Regions from separate parts of the Homo sapiens genome. Here region 2 is linked to region 1. Evidence: promoter capture Hi-C in human tissues and cell types (Jung and others, 2019). All regions are on one chromosome and are shown on one strand. Each heading gives the region's core, a stretch centred on a gene start or on the middle of the fragment in contact. The rest is flanking DNA. Distances are from core to core; before and after follow the strand shown. Region 1 holds the start of TMEM147 (transmembrane protein 147). Region 2 holds the start of GPR42 (G protein-coupled receptor 42).

Region 1 (3,881 bases), core at 1-2,500:
CTCCAGCACCCCCGTGGAACCCAGGTGTCCCTTCTCAGGGGTCTGGGCTCCAGGCTGCTGTACGCACCGGGACATAATAAGCTCAGCAGTGGCCCAGCCCAGGGCAGCAACCATGATCTTGTACTCTCCCTTGCCGGCATTCCGGGACATGACAAGGTTTAGACCTATCAGGTCTGCCACATCCACGCTGGCCTTCATGAACTCCTGCGGGTCAGGTTGAGGCTTAAGTAAGCACAGGGGGACAGGGAGCCCCATTCCTGAACTCCCTTCCCTTCCCTGGCCCCTCTCACCCCAATGAAGTCATAGATGCCGCCTTCCCAGGTGGGAAAGAAAGTGGCCAAGAACAGCATCTGAGAACAGAAAGCAGAAAGAGGTCACTTCAAGGTGAGGGGATCAAGATAAACCACGTGGGATTTGTGGGAAGTTCGTGGGTAGGAAGAGGGCAGGACAGGTTCTGGGGGCCCATCTGGAAGAGGAACCACCAGATGGTGGCAAAATTACAGGAATCGGGGAGATAGAGGATAGGTCCCCGGGTCCCCGAGGGGGCTGGAAGTTTGAGTTCTGGGTGATCACAGGGCATCTGAGTCAGGTCTGAAGGTGCTGCTCCTTGGGCAGTGTTAGCAGCACGTACGGAATCAGTGATCACTCTTAACCGCACCAAAAAAAACCTGTTAGCCAACCACACTACTGAGGTTTTCTCAGTTTTACTAAGTGCTACGCAAAAGTTGCTTCTAGGTCTCTTCTCAGGTCGTGCCCTCTTTAAAGTCCATCCTCTCTAGGTATCCTGACGCCTCCCAGTGCGGAGTCCCGAGGGCGGTCCCACCGTGGGGCGGCGGGGGCGCGGATAGGCAACGGGGGCGGGTCCCTGGGTCTGCAGAGCCTGGGGGCCAGAACACGTGGCTTCCCGGTGGCCCTCACCTTGCAGAGTTGGACAAAGAGGTAGGTGACTCCAGCCTGGACGCATTTCCAGAAGGCGTTGTACTCGGACCTGGAGAAGCGGGAGGTGAGGGTCGGCCCGGGCCCCGCGCCCTCTCCGCCCCGCGCCCTTCCCGCACTCACAGGCCGCTGCACTTGTAGGTGATGAAGTAGGGGAAGTAGGCAAGAGCGAAGCAGTTCCCGAAGTGAAACAGGGTCATGATGCCGGCCGCCCGGTCCCGCCCGCGCGGGGATCGCGAGGCGGCGTCTCCGGGAGCGGGTCTCCGGCTCCGCCGGCTCTTTCGCCACGGCCAGGGCCTGGCACCCACCTGACTGGCGGGGGCCCGCGCGCGACCTTCTGGGAGCAGTAGTCCCGGCGCGGGGCGTCGCGCCCAGTGACGTCAGAGAGCCCGTGGCCGGCCCTGGGTCCCACCGCTGCCGGCCCAGCGCTTTGGGGAGTGACTTCCGGCCATGCGGGGCCTCTACCGCTGCCATCGCGGTCCCGGTCTCCTGAAGTGGAACCCGGCTTGGAGTCGAGCGCGACCCCTCGCCCGTGGGCGCAGGCGATCGAGTAAGGGTGGGGCGGGCCTCAAACCCGGATCAGAACCCGCCCTGACCGGCGCAGAGATACGGGACGCAGCCGTGAGCACTGTTTTTTATTTCACCATGGACCCATCGGCGTGGGGCGCCCGCCCCGGGTGTCCTTCCTCCCCCGGGCAGCCAGATGCTGGAACGGGAGGCACATGTTCCGGCCCCGGCCCCTGGGAAGGAAAGAAAGGACCTTCCCGTTTCACTTGTCTCGGCTGAACATGTAGCGGAGGAGGTCGACCACCCGGTGACTGTAGCCATATTCGTTGTCGTACCTGTGGAGGAGGGGTCGGGAGGTTCAAGGGGGTTCCTTCCGACCACCCCTTAGTTCCCCTCCCTCTAAGTCTCCAGCTCCTTCCCCCTTACCATGAAATGAGCTTCACGAAATTGTCATTGAGCGCAATGCCGGCCTTAGCATCGAAGATGGACGAGTGGGTATCACCGAGGAAGTCCGTAGAGACGACCTGGAAGTCAGAATTTCAAAGATAAGTGTGTCCGGCAGAGCAAGGACCTCCAGGAGCTGAGGCCCCGACTCTTAACTCTATCGCCCATCCATGCATTCATCTATAATATTTGATGTAGCCCTACTGTGTCCAGTCTCTGGACTGGAGGGTATGACCAAGTGCAGGGTATGACCAAGGCACTGTGTCAGGGTCTGGCCAAAGGGCACAGGTCACAAACACCCTCATGCTGTACCAGTACATCCCTTTCCTAGGAATAATGCAAGCGTTTGGAATGGGCCAGCATGGAGGGCCTCTCTGAGGGGTGGCCATGAGCCTGGGTCTAGATGACTAGAAAGATCTGACCGGCTGGGGCCCTCAGCACAGTGTCTGAGGTAGAAGGAGCTGCAGGAAGGGAGGACCTGAGGGTTTTAGCCCTAGTGTCATGAAAGGCCACAGGAGTGTTTTCAATCCTGAAAACGGGTGATGCAATGTGATTCCATTAAAACAAAAGATCCCAGTGACTGTGGGAAAGTGGACCTGCAGGAGTTAATGCAGGGAGACAGCACCAAGGTGGATGTACAGGGGTCCACCATGACCATGGCATCCACTCCTCACAGAGAAGGCATCTGGCCATGGCCTGGCCCTGAGCAAGTATTGAAAAAAATGGGAGCTGTTGTCTTTTGTTCACTAAGCATGTATTAGTCACCTGCTGTATGCCAGGTTGGAGCCACAAAAGTGAAAAGGCAGCCCCTAAATCCCTGTTTTCTTGGAGTGCACACACCACTGGGGCCAACAGTGACTATGAAATGAAATTTCAGGTGAGGAATATGGCCACAAAAAGAACATATTTTGAGGGGGTGCCTTGCTGAAGAGGGAGGTTCCTCCAGAGACTTGGAGGAAGTAAGGACAGACTGTATGGTCACCTGGCAAGGGAAGCATTCCAGACTAAAGGAACAGCAAGTGCAAAGGCCCTGAGGCAGGGAGATCTCCCTTCCTGCCCTGCAGTTTCTGACTTGGCACATTGAGAGCAGCTCCCTGGCAAGTGGAAATCATGTCCCTTCCCAGAGGGCTCCTCCCAGGGTCTCCTCTCCTCAGCCCCTACCTCATCCTCGGTGTAGGCAAGGATGCCAGCCATGGGCCCCTTGGCTGCTGCTTTTACAGCCTCCTTGATGGCTGAGTAGGGGGCAGGCTGGGCGAGGCGGCAGGTCAGGTCCACGACAGACACATCCGGGGTTGGTACCCGGAACGCCATCCCTGTCAGCTTCCTGGAGAATCCCCCATGAGGAACAGGAGTCAGAACTTAGGGACGTTGCCCTCCATTCCCCCTTTCCCTGTGGCTGGGCCAGGCCCCTGCTTTCCTCTTAAGGACTGAGGGCCGGGCCAGTCCAGTCCTCCTGGCGTATGCCCCCACCCTGGTTGCAGCTTCTTGTCCTCATACCCTTTGAGCTCTGGGATGACTTTGGTCACAGCTTTCGCAGCCCCAGTGGAGGCTGGGATGATGTTCTGGTGGGCACCCCGCCCATCTCGCCAGGCCTTCCTTGATGGCCCGTCCACTGTCTTCTGGGTGGCCGTGTAGGAATGGACTGTGGTCTTGGGGAAGAGAAGGACCAAGATGAGGCCTTCATGCTCCTAAGCTCCCATGCCTCTTTTTTCCAGGACTAAGTTGGTGGCCTAGGTGTGGAGGCTGGTGGGGCCACCACCACAGACCACAGGAGGGGATGTGTGCAGGCCAGGGTCCAGCCTTGCCTGAGGGTTGCACAGTGTTTTAAGTGACTTCTGCACTGGTGGGCCTCTCCTCCCGAAACCAGTCTCTCCCTCTTAACTCCATACAGTAAGCAAGGCCCGGGAAGAAGTTGGGTTTCCCTGCCATCCTTCCTGCCCCAGCCCCTCATCCTCAACTCACCATCAACCCTTCCACGATCCCAAATCGCTCGT
Region 2 (3,881 bases), core at 442-2,941, 170 kb after region 1:
CCTCTCCTGCCCCTGCCACTCACTGGGCAGCCCCCTCAGACCTGGGCACTGCTCTTAGCTCCTCTGCCACCCTCAAGAAAACACAGGAGCTGCCTGCTGCTATGAGGACCTCATTGTTCTCCAGAGCAGCCTCTCACCCTGACCCCTTCCCAGAGCCCAATCCATAGTGTGTGGGTGGATGGGGATGGAGGTGAGATCGAGAGCTGGGCTTTAGCGCGCATACCCTTAGGGAGGCTAGATGTCTACTCTGCCCCCAAGCCCCATCGGGCCCCAGCTCGCCACTCCAAGTCCCTCCTGGCGTGAGCGAGGAAGCGCCCTGAGGATGACACGCCAGCTACACCCTCCTCCCCCGGAGGACCTAGTTTTCAGCACAGGCCACCTGGCCACCAGTTCCACAGCCCTGTGAGTGTTCACTGGTCTTTCTTTCAGCTGGTCGGTCCGCTCTCTGCTCCTCCCCTCCCTTCTGCTCCTTCAGCTCCATGCTGCTCTCCTGCTGCCACTGGCCCCAGAGCCCACACAACCTCCTCAGCAGCTCATGAAAGTCGGCTTGGAACCCGGAGGAGGAGAAGTAGTAGACAAAGGGGTCGACACAGGAGTTCAGGGTGCTGAGAAGCGTCACGTAGATCCTCCACACCGGGCTTTCACCGCAGATATAGCCCACGACATGGGACACGTTGTAGGGCCCAAAGCAGACAAGGAAGTTGAGCAGCGTGGCCGCCACCAGCCCCGCCACCCTCCTCTGCCGGCGGTGGCTGCCCCCTCTGCCGAGGATCCACACCAGGCGGCTGTAGCAGTAGCTGGTGATGATCAGCGGGACCACAAAGAGGACCACAGCCATCTCCAGCCGCACGGGCAGGAGGATGGCTAGCTGGTCCTTCCAGAACTCCAGGTAGCAGGTCCCATTGGTGCCCTGGCTGTGGGAGATGTCCCCTGAGAATTCTATGACGTAGACCACGCTGCAGTGAGCAGAGGCCAACAGCCAGCAGGCCACACTCACCAGACCTGCCTGCCCCAGCCTCGGCCGGGTCTTGTACCACAGTGGGTGGGCCACACTCAGGAAGCGTTCAATGCTCACAGCTGCCAGGAAGAGGGCGGTGAGATAGATGGTGGTGAAGAAGATGAATCCAGAGAGTGGGCAGAGGATGAAGGGCAGGGGCCAGTGCATGCCATTGGCTGCCTCCACCATGCGGAAAGGCAGGAACAGCAGCAGGAGCAGGTCCGAGGCGGTCAGGTTGAGCAGGAGCACGTCCACGGCCACCGGGCGGCACCGCAGCTTGCCCACGAAGACCACCAGGGCCAGCAGGTTGAGGGGGAGCCCCACCAGGAAAGTGAGAAGGTACACCGAGAAGACGAACCAGTGATTGCCGGAGAAGTAGGACTGGTCGGGGCCTGTATCCATGGTGGTGGCCACTGGTGAGAGAGAGTAACATGGAGTTGGTAGTGGGGGCCCTAACGGCCTCTGGCCAGCAGCATCTCCCCTAAAAGGGCACGAGGTCACTACGCCCACCCCTCTTGTCTCTGGGTGCCTTCCAGGCGGGGTCAGCCTGCCTGTCTTCCTGAGCATGCCCTGTCCCCTGTCCCTTCCCCAGCAGAGAAGCACCAAGGTGCTCCTCCACCCAGCCCCTCGGGCCCAGGCTCACCTGCTTCTTTGAGACCCCAAATGCTCTGCCGCACAGCACCTTGCTGTCTCTCCAGACCTAGTGCAGTTGGCTATTTATCCGGCAGAACTGATAAAGACCTGGCCGTGCCCATGACATCACTCACTGTTGAGCAGTGGCACAAAGATGCCTTGAGCTCCGTTGCCAGGGCTGGTCAGTATGCAAAAAGGGGAACAAATTCCACAACTGCGTGCCTCCCTCCTTGCGCAGCCTCAGCTGGGATGCTCCAAACAGGCCCCAGCTGACGTCTTCTTCCCCTCCCCTCTCTTCCACTTGAATTTTGTCTGATTCTCTAGAATGGCACTTATCCAGTTTGCCTTTTAAGGGCACAAAGCATGAGCCAGTGACAGACTGGACTCCGTGAGGTCTGTTCCTTCCTGACTTTGTGATGTGGGGGAAGAGATGTGTCTCTTCTTCCTCCCCTACAGAACAGGGATTGTCATAGTACCTGTACCATATTTCAAAGCATGAACACATGCAGATTAAAACATATATACAGGTAGATTAAAATGTTAATAATATAGGTCAATTGCTTTTTGAAAATATTTATTTTAGATTCGGGAGCACATGTGCAGGTTTGTTACATGGGTATATTGCATAATACTGAGGTTTGGGCTTCTATTGAACCCATTACCAAAATTGTGAACATAGTACCCAATAGGCAGTTTTCCCACCCTTGTCCTCCGCCCTCCCTCCCCCACTTTGGAGTCCCCACTGTCTATGGTTTCCATCTTTAATGTTTGCGTGTACCCATTGTTTACCTCCCACTTAAAAGTGAGAACATACAGCATTTGATTTTCTGTTTCTGTGTTAATTCACTTAGGATCATTCACTTAGGCCTCCAGCTGCATTTATGTTGCAGCAAAGGACATGATTTCATTCTTTTTTATAGCTGCATAGTATTTCGTGATGTGTATGTACCATTTTTTCTTTATCTAGTCCACCATTGATGGGCACCTAAGTTGATTCCATCACTTTGCCATTGTGAATAGTGCTGTGACAAACATACACATGCAGGTGTCTTTTTGGTAGAATGATTCCATTTTATGAAAAATGACATTGATAATTTGGTAGGAATTGGGTGGAATCTGTAGATTGCTTTGAGCAGTATGGACATTTTAATGATATTGATTCTTCTAATCCATGAACATGGAATGTTTTTCATTTATTTGTGTTTTTTAGTTCTCCTTGTAGAGATCTTTCACTTTCACTTCCTTGGTTAGATGTATTCCTAGGTATTTTATTTTTGTGTGTGGCTATTGTAATTGGGATTCTGTTCTTTATTTGGCTCACAGCTTGACAATTGTTGGTATATAGTAATGCTACTGATTTTTATACACTGATTTTGCATCCTGAAACTGCCAGTCATTTATCAGGTCTAGGAGTATTTTGGAGGAATCTGTAGGGTTTTCTAGGTATAGAATCATATCATCAGTGAACAGAGATAATTTGACTTCCCCTTTCTATTTGGATGCCTTTTATTCCTTTTTCTTGCCTGATTGCTCTGGCTAGGACTTCCACTACTATGTTGAATAGGAGTAGTGGGAGTAGGCATCCCTGTCTTTTTCCATTTCTTAGGGGGAATGCTTCCAACGTTTGCCCATTCAGTATGATGTTGGCTGTGAGTTTGTCCTGGATGGCTCTTATTATTTTGAGGTGTGTTCCTTCGATGTTTAGTTTTTTGAGGGTTTTTATCATGAAGGGATGTTGGATTTTATTATATGTTTTTTTCTGCATCTATTGAGATGATCATATAATTTTTGTTTTTAATTTTATGTGGTGAGTCACATTTATTGATTTGCATATATTGAAACATCTTTGCATCCCAGGAATAAAGCCCACTTGATCATGCTGAATTATGATTTTGTCATGCTGCTGGATTTGGTTTGCTAGTATTTTATTGAGGATTTTTGGATCTATGTTCATCGGGCTATTGGCCTACAGTTTTCTTTTTTCACTGTGTCCTGCCAGATTACGATATCAGAATCAGACTGTTTTTGTAGAATGAGTAGGGAATCTCTCCTCCTCAATTTTCTGGTAAAGTTTCAGTAGGATTGGTACCATCTCTTCTTTGCAGGTCTGGTAGAGTTTGGCTGTGAATCCATCTGGTCAAGGGCTTTTTAAAGGTGGTAGATATTTTATTACTGATTCAATTTTGTAACTCATTATTGGTCTGCTCAGAGTTTCAATTTCTTTCTGGTTCAATCTTGGTTGTATGTTTCC

The links. The method cuts DNA at HindIII sites, captures the fragments that hold promoters and counts their contacts. A contact is called where the count stands out against the background at its distance.
Region 2: the fragment with the promoter of GPR42 here is called in contact with the fragment with the promoter of TMEM147 in region 1 in 2 of the 25 tissues and cell types used here (H1 embryonic stem cells and lymphoblastoid cells).

The regions. Positions count from the first base shown.
Region 1 is chr19:35,542,995-35,546,875 of GRCh38, reverse strand. It overlaps TMEM147 (transmembrane protein 147), which reads right to left and starts at 1,250. Exons shown (of 7, transcript NM_032635.4): 1 at 1,060-1,250; 2 at 919-988; 3 at 291-350; 4 at 68-204. The coding sequence starts at 1,136. It overlaps GAPDHS (glyceraldehyde-3-phosphate dehydrogenase, spermatogenic), which reads right to left. Exons shown (of 11, transcript NM_014364.5): 7 at 3,850-3,881; 8 at 3,385-3,536; 9 at 3,049-3,211; 10 at 1,870-1,967; 11 at 1,557-1,778. The coding sequence ends at 1,706. It overlaps TMEM147-AS1 (TMEM147 antisense RNA 1), which reads left to right and starts at 847. Exons shown (of 4, transcript NR_038396.1): 1 at 847-939; 2 at 3,603-3,881. RefSeq lists a silencer at 669-1,248 and enhancers at 941-1,633, 3,348-3,849. The HindIII fragment of the contact is 10,627 bases long and covers 1-3,881 here.
Region 2 is chr19:35,368,878-35,372,758 of GRCh38, reverse strand. It overlaps GPR42 (G protein-coupled receptor 42), which reads right to left and starts at 1,691. Exons shown (of 2, transcript NM_001348195.2): 1 at 1,641-1,691; 2 at 1-1,410. The coding sequence starts at 1,399. The coding sequence ends at 359. The HindIII fragment of the contact is 14,423 bases long and covers 1-3,881 here.